Linked DNA regions of Homo sapiens: region 2 is linked to region 1. The links are contacts of gene promoters, found by promoter capture Hi-C in human tissues and cell types (Jung and others, 2019). All regions are on one chromosome and are shown on one strand. Each heading gives the region's core, a stretch centred on a gene start or on the middle of the fragment in contact. The rest is flanking DNA. Distances are from core to core; before and after follow the strand shown. Region 1 holds the start of PPP3R2 (protein phosphatase 3 regulatory subunit B, beta). Region 2 has its middle 310 kb from the start of GRIN3A.

The links. The method cuts DNA at HindIII sites, captures the fragments that hold promoters and counts their contacts. A contact is called where the count stands out against the background at its distance.
Region 2: a contact is called between a fragment that was not itself captured here and the fragment with the promoter of PPP3R2 in region 1, in 1 of the 25 tissues and cell types used here (mesendoderm cells).

Annotation. Positions count from the first base shown.
Region 1 is chr9:101,591,897-101,597,694 of GRCh38, forward strand. It overlaps PPP3R2 (protein phosphatase 3 regulatory subunit B, beta), which reads right to left and starts at 3,073. Exons shown (of 1, transcript NM_147180.4): 1 at 1-3,073. The coding sequence starts at 3,025. The coding sequence ends at 2,513. All of the region lies in intron 6 of GRIN3A (glutamate ionotropic receptor NMDA type subunit 3A), which reads right to left. LOC105376186 (a long non-coding RNA gene) reads left to right here and starts at 3,078. Exons shown (of 3, transcript XR_001746863.2): 1 at 3,078-3,192; 2 at 3,447-3,612; 3 at 3,701-3,919. The HindIII fragment of the contact is 7,456 bases long and covers 1-5,798 here.
Region 2 is chr9:102,046,077-102,051,874 of GRCh38, forward strand. No RefSeq gene overlaps it. Among named protein-coding and RNA genes, the nearest start is that of GRIN3A, 310 kb to the left of the region's middle. The HindIII fragment of the contact is 5,660 bases long and covers 481-5,798 here.

The DNA of each region.
Region 1 (5,798 bases), core at 1,823-4,322:
CTCTTTGTTAAATGTGAGCATGTAATCCAATATGTTTCAAGCCCTTGGTCATAATTTTAAAATTTCCATATTTTAATGTGCACATTGCAGGGTGTATAAATAATGCCTCTCTTTAATGACAATAATGTCCTCTTGGCTAGCATGACATGTGCTCACTTCCTCCATGTAAAATTCCTCCACAAAAAGTTAAATAGGTTGGGCTGGAATGAGAGATTTTGTTTTAAAAATTCTCCAGTTCTCAGGTCAGAAAGTCTGTTGTCCCCTCTGCAAATGAAGGAGTGGTGAGGACCTTGAAATTGTTCCCATTGTTTTCTCTCTGGGCTTGGACATGGGCTGTACACTAATGTCCAGTTAATTTTAGAGTGGGTGTAGCTAAGAACTAAGTAAGTGTTCAAAAGCAACCAGTAAGCCTCATGTCTCCTTTACATATTGATCTTGTAGAAGGGGAAGAAGGGGGAAGGGAAGGGAATTAGTTGAATGAAAGTGGAATTGTGCTCCAGGTGTGTTGCATGCCTTTTTGAATCCTCAAAATAACCCTGGGGTGGATCCTCTTTAATTAGGTGGAAAGACACAGAGAGGCTAAGTAAATTATTCATGCTCACACAGCTAAAAAGAAGTGAGTGTGATAACAACCCAGTTGCAACTGAATCCAAACCCAGGTGTGTCTGAATCTTTGAACATTACATAACCCTGATCACCACAGGGTTGGGAGCGTTTATCACAGTTTTTAGGGTTGAACAGGAATTGAAGGGGTAAGGATTCCTATTTTTGTGGTTTCTAAGTAATCTATTAAATACAAAAGTATATGGTAGGGTACCTTGATAGATGGGTTCCCTACAAGTGATTAAATTTGTGGACTTTTTTTTTTTTTTTCTATTTTGGTCAAGACCAGTTGCCAGCTTCTTCCAAATAAAATAGCAGTAAATCTCCTTGAAACAGATCTTCCATGTCCTGAAAAAAGTTACCTGAGTGGTATCTCTTGGCTAAGCAAGTGTAGGGAGAGTATGTTTCATTGTTCTGCTGTTTTGAGAGCCTTAAGCATCTTATATGGGAAGTGGTTCTCTGTGAGAAAGAGGATTGGTATGGAGGCACAGATGCTGGGACAAGTCCTAGCCCTGCTCTTCTGAGGACAGTTCATGCTCTGAGAACTCACAATAGTATGTGGGACACCTCAGGGAGCTGGTAACATTTGGGGTACAGGCAGTGATGTATTTACTGGTAAACAAATTCTCCAAAACAAAACAAAAACAACTAAAAGCTTTTGTTCTTTTCTCACCATGGCTGATCTAAAGCTACCAACATGACATAAATGCGTGGGAAGAGACACATGCATTCTGGATCTCCCCTGGAACCACAGGCTCCGGCTCACCCAATGGTGGAGATCTGTTAGTGTGTGAGGACTTCTGCACTGAATGTTCCACTAGGGAAAAGGCTTCCTGGAATGAGAGAGCTCTCAGTTTCTCTTCTAGGCCTCAGATCTGATTTTCAAAATCAGCATAGCTGGTGTAGCTAGCATCCACCTCTGCTGTGGAGACACAATTGTCAGTCTCTGCATCTGTGAGCAACAGACATAATGCCACTTTGGCATCCTAGGGAGATTCCACTGCAGCCTGACTCTACTGCCTCTCCTCCGTAGGACAACTAACTAAATGTCTCATTGTCTCCACCTGGGGGTAGGGACCAGTGTCGGAGGTGAGAGCACTTTCTGGGAGAACACTTTGCTTGCCCTATTTAGCTGGAGGTCCCCTTCATTGAAATTAATGCTGGTGTGGGCTGCCAACCCTGGAAACCCACTGCTAATGAGGATGATGGCTGAGCTGGGCACTTAGTCCAGGCTTAGCATTTCCTATAAGAGCCCTGAAGCTAGTTTCTGTTCAGGAGCTGGAGCAACAAGTCAGGAGGAGGCCAAATGAACTCCTACCCCTCAAACATGCACAGCGATTTCTGGATGCATTGTGGGGAATGGGGCTGCAATCTGCCGAAGGAAAAGATGGGATTCTGTCCCCTAAGAAAAGTGATTACGAGATGCCCAGCAAAGACAAATATATTTGTCCCTGTTGCTACAATAGGAAGTTAACAATCTGGCAAGATATCTGAACACAAGCAAATGAAAACAGTTCACCTAACACCCATGCAAATTATAAATTTCCTCCCATATACAAAATGATGAGAAATAACAGCAAAAATGTATACTTTCTTATTTTTGAACTTTTAAAGTTCTAGTTTGGTCTTTGAATCAAAACAAAGTAAAAGATGTTTATAAAAGCCATTTCCTTTTCTTTCCCCACTATGCTCATTTGACTTGCTCTTCCCCCTATAGGGTACCCTGAGTCATTCAGAGAAGGAGAATTAATAGCACTGAGTTGGTGATGAAGCTCCTGTTAGGACATATGGCTTCACAAAAAGAAATACTTCCAGATAAGTCAGAGAGACAGTTGGACGTCTTGAGCAAATCTTGAAAGAGATAGGGAAGAAAGCAGAAGTTGTTGGGTGGTGCTTGTAAGAAAAAGGCTCATACGATGAGGACCAGCTTCTTGTGGATCTCCAGGTCTCTGACCACAGCACTGAATTCCTCAAAGGATATCTTCCCATCGCCATCCTTGTCCAGGATGATGATGGTTTTGTCGACCAGCTGCTGGAGCTGCCAGTCCGTCAGGTTGTTGCCCACCATCATCTTCAGCACCTGGAAGAGCTCCCCGTTGGAAATGTAGCCATCTTTATCCATGTCGTAAATGCTGAACGCAAACCTCAACTTCTGCTCCTCGTCGCCCTTGACGCTGAACTGGGAGGTCCCCAGGATGAATTCCTTGAAGTCCACTTCTCCATCACCGTCGGTGTCGAAGACGTCGATCACTCGCCGCACCAACGGGTTGTGGCGCAGCTCCGGCAGGGACATGAACTCCTCCACGCTCAGAGACCCTGATTTGTCCAAGTCCAACTTCTTAAACCTCCTGCCCAGCCTTTTAATTTCATCATTGTCAAAGTGGGAGCACATCTCCGCCGGGTAACTGGCCTCGTTTCCCATTGTGGACATCTGGCAACGGCCACGGCTCAAAGGGTCGGAGAGGGGAGCAGGGGCGGTGAGCTCGGGCGGGGCTCGTGCCCGGACGGTTGGGCCATGGGGTGGGGGTAGAGGGCTCCCGGGGGCCCTGGTCGAGCAAAAGGGCAGGGGAGCGGAGGGAGGGGCGGCAGGTCAGAGAGGGAGCGGAGAGAGGAGGGAAAGAAGGAGGGAAAAGGGGGCGGAAGGGGAGGTGGGTGCTGTCTGGGCAGGAGTATAGGGAGGAGAGAATGGAGCCTGGGGGTGCCCGGGAGAGGCAGAGGTGGAAAGCTGGGCTGCCCCTTCTCTTTTTCCTTCTCTCAAACTCCTTGTACCTTTCCATGATAACCCCAATTTCCCTGGCAATTATTTTATCTACTTATTTCTTTTTTTTTTTTCTCTGAGAAAGTAAACCCCAAAGGAGAAGGGATCGCACCTGTGTTATTCGCTGCAGTATCCCAGAAGCACAGTGCTTCACAGGCAATATGTGCTTAATAAATATACGCCGAATGACTGAACTGCAACCAAGGACACTGTATACTTGCTTTACAGACCTAGTGTAAGGATGAAACAAGGTGACACATCAAGGCATTGATATAGTATGTTTTCCACGATTCCCTGGGAGGGGAAGCCGGGATTGACATCCTTCTGTACCTTTTTCAGGACGTAGGATTCAGAGTGTTTGTAAGAGACCAGGCAGATACCGCGCAGAATTTCTTACATGGATCACCTACAGGCACTAACATATTCCCGAGGAATATAAACAATGCTGAATTCAGGGCGTTTTTCAAGATGACACAGGTCTCAAGAACACAACCTCTGTTACTCTGTTCCCTCTTATCCATCATCTCATGCCCGAGTCACATCTTTGTTGTTGGTGCCTGGCGGCTATTCTGCAGAATACCTTGGGGGAAGGTCTGCAATGTGCCCAAAGAAGCCTTTTGTGTGTGTTGAGAGTGACAGTCGCCTCTGGATGATCTCACTTTTCTCCTTTTGTTTCAACTAGATTTGTTCTTTCTGTTGAAGACTAATCTCACATGCTCCCTCTTATTCCTTCTTCCTTTCGGAGCGCATCAATTACTCCAAATGCATAAGAAACAAATGTGGTTCAAGAGCAAACAGTTCAAAGGGACTTGGGGGAACCTCAGGCCACTACATCAAACTGAAAGATGCAAACACTCCTTCGCTTTAAAAAATGTTGGCAAGTTCTGTGTTCTATAGTTCAGCCAAAATATCAGTCTAAAGATAACCATGCTGGAACTAGCAAAACTAAGCCACTGATCACCTTATCATTAAGTCTGGCCATTTTACTTTCCTCTATAAACAAATGATAATCCATGGATATGTTTTAAAGCTGATTATGGGCATTACACAAATGAAACCCCCTTTCCCAATTAGACTGTTATATTGGAATGTTTTTTTGTTTCATTTATTTGCTTGCTTTTCAGTTATTCAGAGAAATGAGCATGGTACAGTTTGCATATAAGCCTATTGAATTTGCAATATTAAGGATACCACCTTAAATTATATTACAAGATGCCTAAAATCAGTGTTGGTCTCTAAATGATACCAACCACTATAGCCTGTGTTCTTTCTAAAGCACAAAGACCTTTCTGGACTCTCTGGGGGAAATATCCAGGCCCTGCAGGTGCAGTTCTGAAAAAATCAGAAACCTCAGGGGCAAGGACAGAACTCTATCTTTTGGGCATGCACTGGGGCTGGGAGCCTCTAGAATTGTGTTATTTCTCTCATCTTGTGTCTTTGACCACAGTGTAGTCCAGTTTCTTGGCTGCAAGTAAAAGAATCTACCTCTAAGAAGCTTAACATGAAAGATAATTTGTTGGAAGAATCTCACATAATCTAAAGAAGAGCTGAATGATTCAGTCTTAGGAAGGGTGAGGATCCCACTGGGTTTAAGGAAATATTGGAACCAACGCCTCAGGACCAGTTATGTAATTTGCAGTGTCCTTTGTTTGAAAATGATTGAGAGCTTCAAGATGGCCACAGCAGAACATTAAACCAAGTACGGGACCTTATGAGACTGCGTGGGCCACATGCCCATGAAGCTGGCCCTGCAAGGAGTTGGGCCCATTGACCTCTCTGTGCCTTTCACCTCTGCTTCTCTTTCCTTCACTCTCTCCTATGGTAAAGCAATTCTTCCACATTGCAGAGGACACAACCACTGACAGATTCCAAGTTAAGACTTTGGGGATTTTATCATCAGAAAAGACGGACTTTTCCCTGTTCTAGTTAGATGCCCATAAATCCCATGAACAGGCTCTGATTGGTCTCACTTGGGTTGGGTTCCCACCTATGAGCCATCAGACATGGCTTATAACATATGGGAGCTTCCATTTGAACCTCATGGATGGAGCTGGTCGGGGGGAAGTGGGGGCTGGGTAGGAAGAGCAGGTACCAAAAGAAGCACATGCTCTTCCTTATAAGAACAGGGTAATGCTGAGCAGACAGAACAACAGATGGACATTAGACAGGTCCATTAGTGCTGACTCTATAGGAGAGAGGAAGCATTTTGAACTCCCTTCAGTTTTGCCAACTGAATAGGCCACAGATCCTGCTATAGTTACAGGCCTCCACTAGCTCATTCATTAGTGCCAGGTCCATCTTATTATTTGCTAAAATATCCCTTCACCTCTGTGTAGATAGAATTGGTATCTCACTTGCAGACACTCTTGTGTTTACAAACTGTGGGTTACAACACATTAGTGAGTGATGAAGTTGGTTTAGTGAGTTACAAACAACA
Region 2 (5,798 bases), core at 2,061-4,560, 450 kb after region 1:
CAGGGTTCCTGTGCTGCCTCTTTCTAATCTCTGTGGGATAATGTTGCTTTGAACTTTGAAGTTGGCTTGGTTTGGATGTTTTTTTTTTTTTAATTTTATTTTATATACCTGGATGCCTTTGAGGATTTGACTGTGGTATAAGTTGAGTTCAGATGAATGGTTTCATTCTGGATGATTTCTGGTGGCCATACCTGAGCTTAGCACTGCTGACTGCATACCCTAACCATAAGCGGCAGGTATCAGGGCATTGTATTATTCTCTGACCCCTCAAGATTAAGCACCTGCTATGCTGGAGGGGCTGAGGGCTCACAGTCCACAGGCAACCAACACTCTTATGGGGGTTGCTAACAAAAGCACTTGAGTGGGGTGGTGGAAGTGGGGCCAGCATGCACATGTACTCTAGCGTGGGAGAGGATTCATGTCTGGATGCGCATGTGTGGTGATGGAGCATCATCATCCATGCACACTAGTAGCAACAATGCAACAGTTTCCACACATGTGCATATGCTCATGTGGTAGTGGCATGTTTTTTGTCTTTTCGATAATAGCTATTCTCACTATGTTGATGTGGTATCTCATCATTATTTTAATTTACATTTATTTAATGATTCGTGATGTTGACCATTTCTTCATATACTTGGTGACCATCTTATGTCTTCTTTTGAGAAATATCTATTCAGATTATTAGCCCATTTGTTAATCAGATTTTTAGATTTTTTTTGCTGTTGTTTGGCTTCCTAGTGTATTCTCAGTATTAATTCCTTGTTCTATAAATGGTCTGCAAATATTTTCTCCCATTTTGCAGGTCATCTCTTCACTCTGCTGATTATTTCTTTTGAGGTGAAGAAACTTTTTAGCTTGATGCAATCCTGTTGGTCTGTTTTTGCTTTTGTTGCCTGTGTTTTTAGTCTTATTCATATTTTTCTTTGCCCAGACCAATGTCTTGAAGCATTTCCCTTATGTTTTCTTTAAGTAGTTTCATGAATCTTATATTTATGAAATATTAATCTTATATTTAAATGTTTTTAGTTTGGGTTTTATTTTTGCATATGGTGAAAGGTAGGGGTTTAGTTTCATTCTTCTGCATACAGATATTTAGTTTTCCCAGCACCAATGATTTATACAACTGTCCTTTCCCCGATGTAGGTTATTGGTGCCTTTGTCAAAAATCAGTTGTCTGTGAATACATAGATTTATTTCTGTGTATTCTTTATTTCTCTCTAACTTGTTCCATTGGTCTACATAAATTTTTATGCCAGTACCATGGGTGTTTTGATTACTATGGCTTTGCAGTATATTTTCAAGTCATGTTGTATGATGCCTTGAGCACACTTTGTTTCTTTTGCTCAGTATTGTTTTTGCTATTCAGGGCTTTTTGTGGCTTCATACAAGTTTCAAGATTGTTTTCTCTCTTTCCGTAAATAATGCCATTCATATCTTGATAGGTACTGCATGAAATCTGTAGATTTCTTTGGGTCGTATGGTCATGTTTTCAATATTAATTTTTCCAATCTGATATGGTTTGGCTCTGTGTCCCCAGACAAATCTTATCTCGAATTGTAATCCCTACATGTCAGGGGAGGGACAAGGTGGGAGGTGATTGGATCATGGGGGCAGGTTTTATGTGCTGTTCTCATGATAGTGAGTTAGTTCTCAAGAGAGCCGATGGTTTTAAAGTGTGGCACTTCCTCTTTCTCACACACATTCCCTCCTGCCACCTTGTGAAAAAGGTGCCTATTTTCCCTTTTGCTTCTGCCATGATTGTAAGTTTCCTGAGGCTTCCTAGCTATGCTTCCTGTTAAGCCTGCAGAATTGTGAATTAATTAACCTGCTTTCCTTTATAATTACCCAGTCTTAGGTGGTATTCTTTATAGTGGTGTGAGAATGGACTAATACACAATCCATGAACATGGATGTCTTCCCGTTTTTAAGAAAAGAAAAGGAGAGAAGACCCAAATTTACAAAAACAGAAATAATAAAGGAGACATTACAACTGATACTACAGAAATACAAAGTATCATTAGAGGCTATTTTGGTCAAGTATCTGCCAACAAATTAGAAAACTTAGAGGAAATGAATAAATTCCTCAACCCATATAACCTACCAAGATCGAATCAAGAAGAAACAGAAAAGCTGAACAGAATAATCAGAAGCAATGAGATTGAATTAGTAGTATAAAATCTCCCAAGAAGAACAGCCTTACACAGGATCACATCAAAGCTCTATTTCACAACCTTTTAAAGGAGAACTAACACATATTCTTCTCAAACTATTCAAAAAAATTGAAAAGGTAGTAATTTATACAAACCAATTCTATATTATATTCAATTCGCTTTAGAAAGAAGCCAACATCACCCTGATACTGAAATCAGACAAAGACCCACAAAAAAAGAAAACTGTAGGTCATTAGCTCTGACGCAGTTTTGCATAGCTGTATAAATCCTTAACAAAATACTAGCAAACAAAATCCAACAGCACATCAAAAAGATTGTATACCATGATCAAGTGAGATTTATCCTAGGAATAGGAAGGCAAGAATATTTCAACATACACACATCAATAAATGTGACAAATCACATTAACAGAATGAGAAACAAAAGCCCTGTAATCATCTCAGTAAACGCAGAAAAAAAACATTTGACAAAATTCAGCATGCCTTCATGATGAAAACTGAACAAATCAGATCTAGAAAGAATGTTCCTCAACACAGCAAGGGCCATATGTGATAAACCCACAGCTACCATCATATTGAATGAGAAAACATTGAAAGCTTTTCCTCTAAGGACTAGAACAAGGGAAAGATGCTCACTTTTACTATGGTTATTCAATATAGTAGTGGAAGTTCTAGCCAGAGAAATTAAGGGAAGAGAGAGAGAGAAAGGGAGGGAGGGAGGGAGGAAGGAAGGAATGGAGGGGAGAGAGAAAGAAAGAAAAAGAAGAAAGAAAGAAAAAGAAAGAAAGGAAGAAAGAAAGAAAGATAGATGGATAGTGAATCAGAATTGGAAAGGAGGAAGTCAAATTGTCCCTGTTTGCAGACAACACAATCTTATCTATTGAAAAACCTAAAGACTATACCAAAAACCTATTAGAAGTGATAAAATAGTTTGGTAAAGATGAAAGATAAAAAATCAACATCCAAAAACCAGTAGCACTTCTGTACACCAATAACAAATTAGCTCTAAATTTAAGAAAGCAATTCCATTGACAATAGCTGCAAAAAATAATAAAGGACCTAGGAATAAATTTAAGCAAGGAGGTAAAAACTCTTGACAATGAAAGCTACAAAACATTGATGAAAGAAATAGAAAAACATTTTTGAAGAAGCAGACAGTTAGCAGACATAATGCTTTTTTCTGCAATTTCAATTGAAGTCAACTGAGTGGTAATACAGTGCCAAATAAATTTAGCCCAAATCCACAGAGAATGTGCAATTAAGAGGCTTCTTCTACACTGAACTGGTTAGTCTTTTTTGGATTACATTGACAGGAAGTTGAACAAAATTGAAAGCTTTGATAGATAAATTACCAGGAAGAGAATGGGAGTGAAAACCAACTCAAGAAAATTCCTCTCTTTGTTTCATATTCCATTTTCAATCCGTTTGAAAAAACAGTTGGCTTTACCTTCAAAACACAGGCAGAATCTAATTAGTTCCTACCTGCTCCAATGTTGCCATCCTGTCTCAAGCTACTATCATTCCTTCTCTGAATTTTTGTAATAGCCTCCTGATTGGCCTCTCTACTTTCACTTTTGTCCCCGTAAAGATTATTCGTAATGCAACAGCCAGAGAAATTTAAAAAAAAAATCTAACTAGATAGTGTCATCCTCTGCATAACAACTTCAATAGCTATATGTCTTACTTCTAGTAAGAGACCAAAGTTTTAAAATGCATAGAGGTGATTTGTGGCCTCTCTTACTTTAACTCCTAGTACGCTAGACCTTTCTCACTGTGCTTCAGGCACATTGGCCTCATTGCCAACCATACACTTTCCCTAGGGCCTTTGCCTGGCTGTTGCCTCTGTAGTGTAGCTAACTTCCTTTCCCTTTTAAAGGCTTTTTCAAATCTCACCTTCCCAGTGGGGCCTGCTCTTAAAAAGCTGTCTAAAATTGCAACCTTACTTTTTCCTCCTTGTTAACTCCTAATCTTCCTACTCCTTCTCTCTCTAACAGCTATACTAAAGTATAATTGACAAAATAGTCATGTTCATTTAACATGTACAATTTGATAAGTTTTGACAAATTAATACTACTAGAAAAGTATCATAACTATCAGGAAAATGTACATATCATCGTACCAAAAGTTTCCCTTTACCCCCTTATAATCTTCACTTCTGCTGCATCCTGCCATTTAAACCCACCCACAGGAAACCACTGATGTTACTTTCTATTGCTATAAGTTCTTTTTAATTTCCTAGAATTTTAAATGAAAGGAAACATATTGTATAATTTTTTTTGGCGGGAGGTCTGGCTTCTTTTTGTCTGGCTTCTTTCACTCAGTTTAACTGTTCTGAAATTCATCATACTGGCCTATATTAACAGTTCATTTTTAATATTTACTGATGAGTTGTATTCCATTGAATGGGTAGATCACCATTGTTACATTTACTTACATTTTGACAAAAACTAAAATTGTTTACAGTTTGGGACTATTACAAATAGAGCTGCTTTGTATATTTGTGTGCTTTAATGAACGTACACTTTTATTTCTCTTGGGAAAATACTTAGAAGTGGAGTGGTGGGAGAATAAGGTAGATCTATGTTTAACTTCTTAGGAAACTCCCCGACAGTCTTTCAAAAACAATTGTACCATTTTTTATTCCAACTAGAAGCATATGCCAGTGTGAGTTTCTCCACACCCTCAAAAACATTTTCGCCATGGCCAATCATTTTAATTTTAGCATCTTCAAATATGCTTATTTGCTTGCTGTCTTTGTATTTCCTTTGGTGAAGTGTCTGCCTAAATATATTGCCATTTTTTTTAACTGTATGATTCGTTTTCTATTATTTGAGTTTTGAGAGTCCTTTATATGTTGTATATACAAGTACCTTATCAAGTACATGATTTCCAAATATATTTTTCCAGTCTATGGTTTGTCTTTTTATTCCTTTAACTCTGTCTTTCAAACAGAAGTTTCCATTTTGATGAACTCCAACTTATTATTTCTTTTCTTTTAATGAACTGAATATTTCTTGTCATATCTAAGAAAATCTTTGCTTTAACCAAGACACAGATTAACTCATTTATTTTCTTCTAGAGGTTTTATACATTTTATATTTAAGTTCATAATCCATTTTGAGTTAATTTTTATATTTGATGTAAGGTGTAGTTTGAAGTTCTTTTTGTTTATTTAATTTTAGATATGAATATTGAATTGTTTCAGCATAATTTATTGAAAGAAAAATCTGTACTTCTCCACTCAGTTGCCCTTGTGTCTGTGTTAAATAAAAGCTGTGTATGTGTAAGTATATTTCTGGACTTTATTCAGTTTGACCCATTTTTTATCTTGATAATACTACTACATTATTTTGATTGCTGTTGATTTATAGTAAGATCTAGAATCAGCCAGTGTCATGCTTCTTTATTTCTACCATTTCTGTGTTTTTTTCATTGTTCTATTTCTTTGCATTTCCATGTGAATTTTAGAATCAGCTTTTGAGTTTCCCCAAAATAACTGGCTGAATTTTGATTGGAATTGTACTAACTTTATAAATGCAATTTTTAGAGACTTGACATCTTAACAATATTGAGTCTTCTGAGCCATGAAAAAAATTATCTATTTTTTGGGTATCTTTTAATTTTT